Linked DNA regions of Homo sapiens: regions 2 and 3 are each linked to region 1. The links are contacts of gene promoters, found by promoter capture Hi-C in human tissues and cell types (Jung and others, 2019). All regions are on one chromosome and are shown on one strand. The core of a region is centred on a gene start or on the middle of the fragment in contact, and the rest is flanking DNA. Distances in the headings are between cores, read along the strand shown.

Evidence for each region. The method cuts DNA at HindIII sites, captures the fragments that hold promoters and counts their contacts. A contact is called where the count stands out against the background at its distance.
Region 2: the fragment with the promoter of WBP2NL here is called in contact with the fragment with the promoter of RRP7A in region 1 in 1 of the 25 tissues and cell types used here (spleen).
Region 3: a fragment that was not itself captured here is called in contact with the fragment with the promoter of RRP7A in region 1 in 1 of the 25 tissues and cell types used here (heart right ventricle).

The regions. Positions count from the first base shown.
Region 1 is chr22:42,518,546-42,523,181 of GRCh38, reverse strand. It overlaps RRP7A (ribosomal RNA processing 7 homolog A), which reads left to right and starts at 3,386. Exons shown (of 7, transcript NM_015703.5): 1 at 3,386-3,468. The coding sequence starts at 3,396. It overlaps LOC124900479 (a long non-coding RNA gene), which reads right to left. Exons shown (of 3, transcript XR_007068117.1): 1 at 3,829-4,636. RefSeq lists enhancers at 2,185-2,479, 3,005-3,064 and silencers at 3,245-3,304, 3,325-3,494, 3,505-3,634. The HindIII fragment of the contact is 27,172 bases long and covers 1-4,636 here.
Region 2 is chr22:41,996,080-42,001,070 of GRCh38, reverse strand. WBP2NL (WBP2 N-terminal like) reads right to left here and starts at 2,283. Exons shown (of 6, transcript NM_152613.3): 1 at 2,191-2,283. The coding sequence starts at 2,252. It overlaps SEPTIN3 (septin 3), which reads right to left. Exons shown (of 12, transcript NM_001363845.2): 12 at 2,850-4,169. The coding sequence ends at 4,104. It also overlaps the pseudogene SLC25A5P1. RefSeq lists enhancers at 1-367, 1,702-2,216, 2,217-2,733 and a silencer at 2,331-2,390. The HindIII fragment of the contact is 18,305 bases long and covers 1-4,991 here.
Region 3 is chr22:41,775,490-41,780,071 of GRCh38, reverse strand. MEI1 (meiotic double-stranded break formation protein 1) reads right to left here. Exons shown (of 31, transcript NM_152513.4): 21 at 3,805-3,970; 22 at 1,260-1,364. Among named protein-coding and RNA genes, the nearest start is that of CCDC134, 23 kb to the left of the region's middle. The HindIII fragment of the contact is 7,041 bases long and covers 1-4,582 here.

The sequences.
Region 1 (4,636 bases), core at 2,137-4,636:
GGGGTGAGCTGGAGCTGCCACTTAGCGGCAGAGTCGCAAACTCACCGTTCCTAATGAAGCCCGTCGCTTCTCCCTCCTCCTCCTCCCAGCAAGCAGGAAAAAAAAAAAAAGTTGACTACTGAGACCACATGCTAGGAAATCCATGGGTGGGTGCTCTAGTTGACAAGTCCCACTTGAGCCCAGCCATATTCGGCCATTCTTGCACTGCTATGAAGAAATACCTGAGACTGGGGAATTTATAAAGCCAAGACGTTGAATTGGTTCTGCAGGCTGTACGGGAAGCATGGCTGCATCTGCTTCTGGGGAGGCCTCAGGGAGCTTTGACTCATGGTGGAAGGCGAAGTGTGAGGGGTCACTTCACATGGTGAAAGCCTGACCAACAAAGTGGGGGGTGAAGCAGCCACCCATTTTTAAACAAACAGATCTCGCGAGAACTCGCGATCGCAAAGACGCAAAGACGGCGCCAAGCCATGAGGCCCCCATGATCCAAACACTTCCCACCAGGCCCCACCTCTAGCACTGGGGATTACAATTTAACATGCGATTTGGGCGGAGACAAATACTCAAACTCTATCACCAGCCATCCCTGCTGAGATGCCGGACTCATCTGCTGAGATGCTGCGATGTGAGTGAAGTGACTTGGAACCTTTAGTGCAGCCCATATGCCAGCTGAATACCATCAAATGCCCTCAGTCAGTGCCACAGGGAGAAACAAAATCTCCTAGCAGAGCATTGCCCAAATTCCTGACCCATGAAATACATGGGCAGTGGTAATTATAAAGAAAGTGGAGTTAATTGATCGAGTGGCATCAGTGGGCTGAAGGAAGAAAACAACAGGCCTCAGGACAGCCATTTATCAACTTATAGCCCAAGGTGAAAATCAGGAGGGGCTTCCAGAGACGTGTTTAAAGACAGGTCACATTGTGCTGATAAAGGCCTAGAACCTGATGAGAACTGTGGAGTTTGAATCAGGGCAGATGAACGGCTGTGCTAAGTGCTGTGCTCCAGTCAAGGAGCACAGAAGTGAAGGAGCGGACACTGTCACCTAGGGCAGGGAACGTCTGGATAGATGGGCTCAAGAGTCTTGAATTCTAGGCTGGGTGCAGTGGCTCACACCTGTAATCTCAGCACTTTGGGAGGCCGAGGTGGGCAGATCATCTGAGGTCAGGAGATCAAGACCAGCCTGGCCAACATGGTAAACCCTGTCTCTACTAAAAATACAAAAAAGTAGCTGGGTGTGGTGGCACATGCCTGTAATCCCAGCTACTTGGGAGGCTGAGGCAGGAGAATTGCTTGAACCCGGGAGGTGGAGGTTGCAGTAAGCTGAGATGGCAGCACTGCACTCCAGCCTGGGTGTCAGCAGAGTGAGACTCCGTCTCAAAAAAAAAAAAAAAAAAAAAAAAAAAAGGCTTATGCCTGTAATCCCAGCACTTTGGGAAGCCGAGGTGGGCGGATCACAAGGCCAAGAGATCGAGACTATCCTGGCCAATATGGCGAAGCTCTGTGTCTATCAAAAATAAGAAATTTAGCTGGTCATGGTGGTGCACACCTGTAATCCCAGCTACTCAGGAGGCTGATGCAGGAGAATTGCTTGAACCCAGGAGGCGGAGGTTGCAGTGAGCGGAGATCGCGCCACTGCACTCCAGCCTGGCGACACAGCGAGACTCCATCTCAAAAAAAAAAAAAAAAAAGTGATGTTGTGTGGCCAGTCCTGATATCCATCGAGATGGCTCCTTGAAGCGTGGAAGCAATACATGAGAGGGAGATAACAGAACGATGGTGGCAGGGCACTGAGAAGGAGCCAAAGGCCTCGGGGAGGGGGATGTGCAGGCACAGATTTATTATGCAACATCTGAGAAGCCAGATGACCGTATTTCTGGAGGGTTCACCAGAGACTGCTTTGACTAGTGGGGGGTCTAGGCATCAATGGGCAATCGGCATGGCCGTCCTCTGAGGCCAGGGTAGAAGAGGGCAAATAGGACTGGAGCCGGGCTCGGAAAGGTCAGCAGGAGATAGGATTCCAGAGAGCAGAGGTTCGGTTGATGTGACTGTCAGAACAGGAGCAAGGCCAGAGTGGCTGCCAGGGATCCTGGGCGCACAGGAGTCTCTGGTGAATGCTAGTAGACCACGGTATTCCCAGGGGCCACGGAAGCCCCAACACTGCTTGACTGCGCTAAGCAAAGAAAGATCAAAAACAAAAAACGAGCGAACAGGACAGTAATGGCAGCTGCTGATGGAAAATCCCAACCCCTCATCCAGTTTCCAGGCCTAAGCTAGGCCTCAGAACCAGAGGTCACTGACTGAAAGGGAGGCTGGGTCCCCTCCAGACCACAAATATTTGCAGTAGTAGGCTCCTAATCTTTCCCCAAAGGGGCCGACAGCATTTCCAAGAAGCAACTGTACACTGGGAAAAGAGAAATAGTAGATACATCAAGGGCTGGCGGGTACACAGTCTGAGAGGCCCTTTGGAGTCCAGAAAAGTGGAGTCCTTGGACTTCATTTCTCCCCTATCTACACTTGCTCCCTTGGCGATCACACCCTCTCATAACTTTCTTTTTTTTTCTCTTTCTTTTTTTTTTGAGACAGAGTCTCGCTCTGTTGCCCAGGCTGGATTGCAGTGGGGCGATCTTGGCTAACTGCAATCTCCGCCTCCTGGGTTCAAGCGATTCTCCTGCCTCAGCCTCCCGAGTAGCTGGAATTACAGGCATGCACTACCACGCCCGGCTACTTTTTGTACCTAGTAGACACGGGGTTTCACCATGTTGGCCAGGCTGGTCTGGAACTCCTGACCTCAAGTGATCCGCCCCCCTCGGCCTCCCAAATTGCTGGGATTACAGGCATGAATCACCGCACCCGGCTCCTCTCGTAACTGTCAATAACCTATCCATGGCCAGTCCCGTGTGTATTGCTCCAGGCCTGACATCTCTGATGTTCAGTCTGTTCAGTCTCATATCTAAGTGCCCACCTGACATGTCCCCTGAGTGGCCTAATGGGCATCTCACCACGGCTCACAGAGAACTGATCTACTCCATTTTCACCCCCAAGCAGGCCCCTCTCCTGCAGTCTTCCCATCTCAGTCAATGGCAACACCATCCTCTTAGTTGCTCAGACTGAAAACCTAGCAGCCATCCTGGATTTCTCTCACACTGCCTATTCAACGTGTGAATGCATGAGTGGAAAGCTGAGTTCGCACTCGTGACTGGCCGGGGTCAACTCTGACATTCGCTCCCACTTTCGCGCGCTGATTTATCTCTGAGCGGATGAAGGTTGGGCCATGGCGGGCGGGGCCGGGGAGGCGGGCTTGGAGTGAGGGGGCGGGGCAGGCGCCACGAAAACGCGCTCGCGCCGGCGCCGAACCGCAACTCCCGGCGGCCCCCGCGCTCCCGGGTGGCAAGATGGTGGCGCGCAGGAGGAAGTGCGCCGCGCGGGACCCGGAGGACCGTATCCCCAGCCCACTGGGCTACGCAGGTGAGGGGCTCCGGGACGCGAGACCGGGGGCGGTCAGGCATCGCCGGGAGGTGTTTGGGGGTTGGCGACGGCCGGGGGTCCCCAGGAGCGGCCGCACGGTTGGGTGTGAGCCCCGGTGGCCCGTGGCCCCAGGCTCCGCAGGTCTTGAGGCTCCGGGGTCCCGAGGACCCAGGCGGCGCCCTTCTGCCTGCTCACTCTCCCGGGGCGAGCCCAACTTGGTCCACGCTTCCCTTGGGTGAGCCCGCCTCTGTCCACACTCTCACCCAGGACAAACCCATTTCCGTCCACACCCGCTCGTCCAGGTGAGCCCATCCCCTTCTCATCGCCTCTGCTCCTAGTCCATCCCCCATCAGCTCTTACCTGGGCTGTTATAGGCCCTCCTACTCGGTTGCCCTCCTTCTCCTCTTGCCCCTGCTTCTGTTCTCCACCCACGTGCCAGAATGTTCTTTTAAGGACATTTAGATTCGATCATGTCTGCCGCGCCCACGATAGGCGCCACACCTACTGCATTCCCTCCAGTGGCTTTATCAGGTAGCTTCTAAAACAAAAACCAGACTTCTTAACCTGTGTGGGCCACGTGGTCTGGCTGGTGCCGACCTAAAGCTCTTTCTGTTCCTCTGAGGGAACATGCTTTTTCCCCCCTCTGGGTTTTTGCACGTGCTGTGCCGGTTTGTTGCACAGTGGCGTTCTGGCCTGAGCTTTAATGTTGCTTCCTCAAAGAGGCCATCCGTGATGGCCTATGGAAAGAAGACCTCTGCCACCCCATCACCCTGTAATGTTTCTTTCACAATTGATACAAGTTTGCTGTATGCTTGTTAATTGTCTTCTCCGTTATTGCAACTGAGCTTCCTGAGTTCAGGGACCGCAGCTCTACGCCAACCGGTACTGTGACGGAGGTGTGAGAAAAATAGAAGCAGTTCCTAGCTTTATGAGGATTACAGTCATGGGTGTGCCAGCGATTAACCAAAGAATCTCATCAATATAGCCTCCAGACTGTTAAGAGAAGCTGTGAAGGCACAGGCAGTGGGATCTGAGCTGGCAGGAGGGGCGGAGGTGATGCTAAGGCTCTCCTGAGGAAGCGAGGTTTGAGCTAAACCTGAGGTGAGCGGGAGGGAAGAGGGTGACACGCCAGGTAGAGAGGCCAGCATGTGTGAGGCCCTGGTGTACC
Region 2 (4,991 bases), core at 1,034-3,533, 520 kb after region 1:
AAGTTATTTCCTAAGATTTTTCCCCCTTTGAACAGGCATGTTGTATTATATGACATATCTTGAGCATTCTTTTTTTTTGAGACGGAGTCTCCCTCTATTGCCCAGGGTGGAGTGCAGTGGCACAATCTCGGCTCACTGCAACCTCCACCTTTTGGTGGAGCAATTCTCCTGCCTCAACCTTTTGGTTCACCTTTTGGGTGATTCACCTTTTGGGTTCAAGCAATTCTCCTGCCTCAACCTCCTGAGTAGCTGGGACTACAGACATCCGCCACCACTCCCGGCTGTTTTTTTTTTTTTTGTATTTTTAGTAGAGATGGGGTTTCAACATATTGGCCAGGCTGCTCCTGAACTCCCGATCTTGTGATCCACCCACCTGGGCCTCCCAAAGTGCTGGGATTACAGGCGTGGGCCACCGCGCCCGGCTATCTTGAGCATTCTTGACAGACTCCTCGCTGTCAATTTATCAGTGGCAACTATTCACTGGTTGGAAATGGGAAGCAATAATAGTCATCTGACCAGTTTTCTCTTAAAGCCATTTCTATGATGATGATGATGATGGGACTCAATTATGTTTTTTATTTCAGTCACTCCTAATAAATAACAAATTTGGAGAAATAAAAATATCTTAAGAAAAGAAAAAAGAAAAGAAAAGAAAGGCTTCACACCATGGAATGACAAGTGCTCAAATGGCTCTCAGTAAGTGCTCACGGGGACACCACTGTCAGAGTGGTGAGCAATCATCTACCACAAAATGGAACAAAGCAGCAGAGGTACGTAGGAAGCAGGTGAGAACATACAACCTCTAAGGCCCATATAAATCTGTCAAGAAAACTTTCTGGAGGAAGGAAAGATAGAAGAAAGACCTGGATATCAGCATTTGGTAACGTCTACTTCGATCTTCCTGACAACTACATTCAAACTGACCTGAGTGTGCTGGCCCCAAGCACATCATCCAGCTTGAGTTTCAATGCTGGTTGGGAGAAAAGGAAATTGAGGGCAAGTCAGAGCCCAGAAAGGAGCGCAATTTAGAACTGCACAGCGGGGGAGACTGAGTTTGAGTGTAGGAAACGGGAAAGGGGGCGTGTGGGGTAAAGAGGTGAGCGCAGTGGAGTCAGGCCTTAGTGAACAAGTGTGCTTGAAGGTGGAGATGGGCACCCCTCTGGCTGAGTCTGCTCCAGTAGAGAGCTCAGGGGCCAGCAGCAGGCACCGCAAGGAGCAAAGCAACTGGTGTAAGCCCCACAGCTTCCTGCGACCAACAGTGCTTTGTTGTGCCCAGGCATCTGTTCAGTCCCATCTTTTATTTTAAGACAGGATCTGGCTCTGTTACCCAGGCTGGAGTGCAGTGGTACAATCTGAGCTCACTGCAGCCCAAACTCCTGGGTTCAAGCAATCCTCTTACCATCGCCTCCCAAGCAGCTGGGATTATGGGTGCACACCACCATGGCCCACTAATTTTCTACTTTTTGTAGAGATGGGGTCTCACTATGTTGCCCAGTCTTGTCTCAAACTCCTGGGCCACCTCAGCTTCCCAAACTGTTGGGATAAGAGGCATGAGCCACTGCACCTGGCCTCAATTTTTTCAATTTTGTTTTTAAAAGCAGACATCTCCCTGGTTGGAGCAAGGAGGAAACATGGCTTTAGAAAGTTTCCAGGTCCAAGGAGAAGCCCCACAACAGTTTGAGATCTTTCCAGAATGATCCACACTCGACCTCCTCATCCCTCTTACCAAAGAGCGACACCTTGTTCGTGGAAGTAGGAGGAGATACACACCCAGTACCTGTCCTCATCCAACAAAGTCGCAGGCACCCAAGGGCAGCCACGCTGCCACCGAAGGCCCCCGGCTGCTCACAACCGCCGGTCAGCTCCGGCCTCTCTTCGAAGGACACACGCGTCTCGCACCCCCTCCCCGCCCCGCCCTGAGGAGACATGCGTCTGGGCCCCGCGCCTTGAAAAGGCGCATTCCCACCCCCACCCCTCAAACGCGCGAGGCCACGCGTTCCGGCCTCCGCCACCTCCACATGCCGGAACACCAGTGAGGGGCGCGCGCTCCCAAAGGTCGGGGGCGGAGCTAAGAGCGCCGCGCCCAAAAAAGGCGGCAAAGTCCCTGACTCGCTGAGAGTTTGCGAGCCGCCATGTCTATCTCATTCGTCTCCTCTCCTCCGACAGCACGCCGTGCTTCCCCTCAGGCACCTTTCACCGTTAGGGATGAGGGCTCCGCGGCGGTTCTCGGTGTGGCTCTGATTCACCGCCATCTTGCTTCGGGCCTCCTGCCGCCCCGTAGATGGAAAGGGGCGGGACCTGCGCCGAGCTGTGGGGCGCGGTTCTGAAGGGGAGGGCGGAGATTATGACGTAAGGAGGAGGAGGAGGAGGAGCGAGACCGGGTCACGTGGTGGGGCAGTGCCCGGGGAGCGGGGCGGAGTCAGGGTAGAGGCCCCCGCCGAGAAAGGGGAGAAAGAGGCGGGCCCTGAGAATTGGCTCGAGCGCGAAGGGGTGAGTGATAGGTGAGTGGCCTCCCGACCTCACCTGCCCCCTTAGCCCCCTGCCTTTAGGTATGGACTTGGGTTGGTCCTGTCAGGAATGATCTCAGCTCACTGCACCTCCAACCTCCCATGCTCAAGCCATCTTCCCACCTCAACCTCCCATCCATTACTCACTTTGGTTATGAAACACTAGAAAATAATGACTGAGGCCCGACCTGACGCCAACTGAAGATGAACTGACCTCACAAAGTGTTTTCATCTCTAATATCTGTGGCTATTTCTTACCAAGAGAGTCTCACCCTCCACACATGGGTGAGATGACATAATGGCTGATTTGGTCAAGGAGCACAAATAAGACAGGCCAGGCAGTTACTGTTCAAACAGCAATGTTTAGTTGTACAACACATAAAGTCTAGCAACAATTACAGGACCAGTTTGAGTGTCTGTTTGCTTGTTTTCAATTGGGAAATTTAACTGTAATGTCACCGTAAGATTGGCTGGGACTGGTAACATTTAAGAAACGGGTTGTTCTTGCATCCCCTAGGCGTGGGCCTCTTGCTCCATCAGGACTTGGTTGTAGATGAATGGCCCACAAGTCACCAGCCTTTGAGCAAGTTGTGTCCAGGTGGAGACAGGAAGAGGGTGGGCAAAGGGGAATTCTATAAAGACACAGTGTGTGGGGCAGTGGCAGTCAACATTCGCAAACATTCATGCATCTGATGGGGGGCTTTGCCCTCCCTTGGGTATTTTCCATTAGCCTACAGTGACCACCTGTGGTCAGGCTAATTCATTACTCACATTAATGGGGAAGGGGGTTGGGGGTAGGAGTAGGTAGGGTAGGTGGGAAGAGATCCCTCTTATTGCTGAGTGGACAGAAGGGTGCTAGTTTTTCCTTAGCGTGTACATATTGTGGGTTTCTGGGGGTTTGTGTGTGTGTTTAGTTTTTGTTTGTTTGTTTGGACAGAAGAAAGTCAACTCCAGCAATGTCTTCTTAGGAAAACCACTCTTCCTCAGTGGCTGCGTTATGAGGTGGGGAGGATGTACAACCGCACTCTGGGACAGCCACAAGTGGTGATTTTTTAAAAAGTGATCCTAGCCCTTGCTCCCCAACATCTGTAGTGACCCACCCTCATGAATATCTTTAAGTAATGAAGGAGACACCCTTGTCCCACTTTGGGGCTCACACAGCTGATCTCAATGAATCTAGTAAGCAGAAAAATTGCTTTCTTGACCCTTTAAGGAAGCCAAGAGTAGCTCATGCAGATGAATGGGTAGGGAGCAATGCCATTGCCCTTAGAGATGGTTACAAGTAGCTGGGATGGGCTTACAAGGGCAGAAGGAGCTCTTGATGAGTTCTTTCACCCTGCAGATGGGCTAGGACCGGCTGACGCAGATGATGCAGTAGGGCTGTACTGGCAGAACCCCACTCCACTGGGAGGAGAGGAGTGGTTTGGATAAATGGAGGATGCAACTGGCCTAAAGAGGCAGCTGGCCCCTCCCACCTACTGAGGGCTGAGAGGGGCTGTGGTGGTGAGCTGGACGAGCACAGCACTAAAAAGGGCTTGGCCCTGCAGCAATAACAGCTGAGAGGAATGGAGTGAGAAGCAGCGCTTGAAATGGCCTTCATTCAGCAGTGGGGCAGGGGGTGGCTGGCACAGGTGGAAGGACAGTGCCCAGGAGGCCTTCTCCCTGCAGGGGGGTTGAGAACGGTTGAGGGTGTGGAGACCAGCAGCTGGCAGCAGACATATAAAATACCTTCTCCAGGGAGGCTCAGATCATGGTTCAGGGGTGCCAGGCACCATTCCTACTCAGCCTTTCCAACGCCCACCTCCCATGCCCATAGATCTTCCCCTGCTGGTCCAAGGTCTCCATACAGGACTGCTTCTACAGTAGCCAAGGATCCCTGTTCTGTTGAAATGTATAACCTCTGGGCTGTAGCGCTGCTGCTGTTCTGTCCTGACAGGTGCCTACCCTGTAACTTTGTGAGCAAGGGAGGATGAGGGCTGGGTTGGCAGCCTCCAGGAAAGACCGAGAGCATAGGTTGGGGTCACTGGTGACCTGATCACCGCCCCCCTTTCTCCTGGTCCATTGAATCTTGGGTCTTGAGTCTATGTTTTTTTTCCTAGCACCTGAGTGATAAAAGACTGGGATTATAAGTGCTGGGATTCATAGAGGACCAGTGAAACACCTAGGCTGAACCAGGAGATGGGACAGAAGGTTGTATGAGGTTATTGTAAACAGTTTCACTTAGTGTTTTCCCTTCCCTAAGGCTAAACTGTTTCCCTGGCCCCGAATTTCATGAATCTTACAGATTAAAGGAAAAGAGTAACTTACTTGTACAACAAGCAGGGGAAATATATGCATTAATAAATACAGGGCTTCAGGGAAAGGCAAGAAAAGCCTAAATGTATGACGGTGGGTATCATTGGGAATGTCTACAGGAGTCAGGAGGAGAGGGAATTAGGGAAAAGTAGAGAAAGACAGACATAAATATGATTAGCTTCAGCACAA
Region 3 (4,582 bases), core at 1,754-4,253, 740 kb after region 1:
GAGGCCATCTGCAATGCGTCCCCAGTGGCCTTTTTTTGAATCTGACACTGATGTTCTCATGAGGTGGACTGGGCTCCAGGCAGGGAAGATGCCCCATCTTCACCTGTGGCTACAGGAGCTGGGGGGTCCACAAACACTGAAGACATGTCATTTTTCCTATTCATTTCAACCTTCCCTCAGCAAATCTTCCTGCAGGTGCTGCCTGTGAAGTGATGGCAGCATCATGAGTTGAGAAACCGAGGAGGTTTGGGGTGTGGGTAAGAAAAAAGCCTGGAGAACTGTGAACTGGATCATCAGATCTGAGTCAATTGTAGGATGAGCTGGAGAGCTGACCTTGTGCCAGGAAAAAAGGAATCTGCATGAATAGGATCTGTTGAAGGTCTACTGTGTGTCAAGCACTGTGTGACATTCTCTATCTAACTAGATAAGTATTCCTTATCTTAACAACTAGATAAGTATTCCGTATCTTAACCCTAGTTTAGGAAAGTACTACTACTTTACCTATGAGGAACCTAAGACTCACAGAGACTAGATGATTGCTAGTGACTAAGCTGAGATTCAAACCCAGGCCTTCCTGACTCTAGAGCTTGTGCCTGTCATACAGATTTGTTTGTTTTAGGGACGAGGTCTCACTCCATTGCCCAGGCTGGGTGCAGTGGTGAGATCATAGCTCACTGCAGCCTTGACGTCCTGGGCTCAAGCAATCCTCCCGCCTCGGCCTTCCCAAGTTGCTGGGACTATATATAGGTCTGCATCACGACACACAGCTAATTATTTGTATTTTTTTTGTAGAGACAGGGTTTCACCATGTTGCCAAGGCTGGTCTTGAACTCCTGAGCTCAAACGACATGCTGCCTCAGCCTCCCAAAGTGCTAGGATTATAGGCGTGAGCCACTAGGCCTGGCAGTTTGTAGAGGCAGGATCTTGCTATGTTGCCCAGGCTGGTCTTGAACTCCTGGCTTCAAACAATCCTCCGGCCTCAAACACCCAAAGTGCTGGGATTACAGGCATGAGCACCCCCCTGGCCTCATAATGCTGATTTTTTGCAGAGGTAGGGTGTCTCCCAAACATTCCCAGAGAACAAGCAGAGAAAGCCCTGAGAGGTCCTTTAGCAAGAAAACCCTAGGGACAGACTGACCTACTAGCTTCTTCCAAAGGGATGAAAGAGTAGAAGAAAGAAGAACACCAGCCTACTTAGTGAGCACCCACTGCACGTCCAGCCCTGGGCCCTTGGGCGCTATCCCAAGCAGCCAGGGCACCTTGGTGAAGGAGCTTCATGGCCACGCTGTCCAGTTCTTGCTCTGACACATTCCTGAGCTGCATCAGGGAGAGGAGGCTCAGCAGCAATGGTAGGTTCCCCGAGGCTGTGAAGAACAAGGAGGACTGGGCAAGAAGCCTGATGCTCAGATCACCTGAAGGTCAGACACCCTGCCCTGCTTCAATGGCCCTTAATAACAGGTTCAAAGTTTTTTGTTTCCTAAGGGGTGAGGTGTTTTGTTGGGATTTACTCCTATTTCTTTCTTCATTTAGAACAGGCGTAACTGATATACTAAGTGCCAGACATAGGTTGGTACCAGGAATTCATTATTTCATTTAATCCCACTAAACAAAATGTGAAGCATGGATTGTTATTCCTATTTTGCACTTACAAAATTGAGGCTCAGAGAGGCTGAGTGACTTCTCCAAGGTCCCACAGCCAGAAAGTGGCAGGATGCTGTGGTCTGAATGTTTGTGTTCCTCCAAAATTCATGTTGAAATCTTAACCCCCAATGTAATAGTATTAGGAAGTGAGGCCTTTGGTAGATGACTGAATCATGAGGGTAGAATCTTCATGAATGGGATGAGTGGCCTTTTGAAAGAAACTGCGAGGAGCTCCCTCCCTCACCCCTTCTGTCATGTGAGGACACAGTAAGAAGACAAGTCATCATGCTGGCACATGCCTATAACCCCAGCTACTCAGGAGTCTGAGGTTGGGGGATTGCTTGAGCCTAGGAGGTCAAGGCTGTGGGGGGCAGGGGAGAAGGAGGAGGAAGAAAGGAGGAGAAGGAAGAAAGGAGGAGAAGGAAGGAAGGAGGAGGAGGGAGGGGAGAAGGAGGGGAAAGAGGAGGAAAAGAGGAAGAAGAACAAGAGGAGAAGAAGAAAAGAAGAAGAAGAAAGAAGAAGATGAAGGAGAAAGAAGGATGGATGGAAGGAAGGAACGAAGGAAGGAAGGAAGGAAGCAGGGAAGGAATGAAGGAAGGAAGGAGGGAAGGAAGGAAAGAAGACAGCCATTTATGAACCAGGAAGTAGGCCTTCACCAGACACTGAATCTTTCAGTACCTTGATTTTGGATTTCCCAGCCCCCAAAACTGGGAGAAATAAATTCCTGTTGTTTATAAGTCACCCAGTCTATGGCCCAAATAGACCCAAATCTGAATCCAATGCCCATGGCCTTCCCACTATGTTTCCACTACATCTTAAGGTTCTTAACCAGTATTATCAGCTAAACATGGCTTGTCCTTCCCTGAAAAGAAATAACTCATCTCCTCTTGACACCTTTAAATCTACTTCCAAACCCTCAGTCCTCTGTCAGGTAGCCACAGATTGCCTTTCGCTTTGCTTAGAAATATAATTTTAGGCCGAGTGTGGTAGCTCACACCTGTAATCCAAGCACTTTGGGAGGCTGAGGCGGGCGGATCACTTGAGGTCAGGAGTTCGAGACCAGCCTGGCCAATATAGTGAAACCCACCTCTAATAAAAATACAAAAAATTAGCCAGGTGCAGTGGCGCATGCCTGTAATTCCAGCTACTATGGAGGCTGAGGCAGAAGAATCACTTGAACCCAGGACGTGAAGGTTGCAGTGAGCCGAGATCACGCCACTGCACACCAGCCTGAACGACAGAGTGAGACCCTCTCTCAAAAAAAAAAAAAAATTATTTTTAAAATTCAGCTTCTCTAAAAATAGAAAAAAACTAAGCTGGGCGCAGTGGCTCACCCCTGTAATCCAACCACTTTGGGAGGCTGAGGTGGGCGGATCACTTGAGCTCAGGGGTTTGAGACCACCCTGGGCAACATGGTGAAACCCCGTCTCTCCTGAAAATACAAAAAAATTAGCTGGGTGTCGTGGCACACACCTGTAAGTCCCAGCTACTTGGGAGGCTGAGGCACAAGAATTGCTTGAACCTGGAAAGTAGAGGTTGCAGTGAGCAGAGATCTTGCCACTGCACTCCAGCGTGGGTGACAGAGTGAGACTGTCTCAAAAATAAAATAATAATAAAATAAATACATAAAATATAAAATAAATAAATACAATAAAATAAACCAATCCAAATTTTCAGTGTCTCCATACTGTACCAAACATCAAGCTTCCTTGACTCCAGTGAGTACCATTCCAGATTTGGAAACTAATCCCCCGGATCTCACTAGGAGCTTCCAACACATCACAGATCCACCTCCCTCCCCAGCCCCTGCGGACTGCTGCTGCCTCCATCCTCCTCCAGATTTCTCACTTTCTTCTTCCCACAGGGGGCTGCCATGCTTGTGACAAACAACACTGAGCACATGCTGCACAGGGTGGGGATATGCATGCACACATCAAACACATCCACTCATGTTAAACACACACACAGCAAACCAAGCATGTTGTACGCCCACTCTGCAGTGAGAGAAAGGAGGTGAAGTTTAGCTTGATGCCACAATGGCCTGGCTTTCTTTTTCAGATAAAACCCTGATTCTCTCTCCTGGAGCAGACCTAACAAGGGTAGAGATGCCCATTCTCGACTGGCTTTCAGGTCAAAGTGTGCCCACAGCACCTGCAGACTGACCTCCTGATGGGGATGCCCCATGCTCCACTAGCAGACGCTGCAGGATCAGCAGGAAGTGGCCTCGGATAAGACCGCCCACTTGGATATCCTCATTCCTCCTCAGGAAGGTCCTCAGGCTAATCAGTACCTTGTGAGCTGTGTCCACTGGGCTGGAATAGATGAGGTCCTGAGCAGGAGAGAAGAAAGCCAGAGATCAGAGGGTACTGCAGTTGGGGAAAAGTGACAATGAGGAATAGAGGGGCAGGAAAAGGGCCCATAATTATGATGTCACAAAAACTGGGTAATCTGTCACTTACTCAGCACCTATTATGTACCAAAGGCTCTTCTAGGTGCACTGACGCCTCAAAACCATCCCTTAGAATAGGTCCATCCTAGGCCGTGCATGGTGGCTCACGCATGTAATCCCAGCACTTTGGGAGGCCAAGGCGGGTGGATCACGAGGTCAGGAGATTGAGACCATCCTGGCTAACACGGTGAAACCCCGTCTTTACTAAAAATACAAAAAAATTAGCTGGGCGTGGTGGCAAGTGCCTGTAGTCCCAGCTACTCCGGAGGCTGAGACAGGAGGATGGCATGAACCCGGGAGGCGGGGCTTGCAGTGAGCCGAGATCGCACTACTGCACTCTAGACTGGGTGACAGAGCAAAACTCTGTCTCAAAAAAAAAAAAAAAAAGAATAGGTCCATCCTATTAAATCCATCCTAAACAGGAGAAAACAGGCTCAGAGAGATTACATGACTTGCTAAAGGTCATATAAGCCAGTGGCACAGACAGAATTT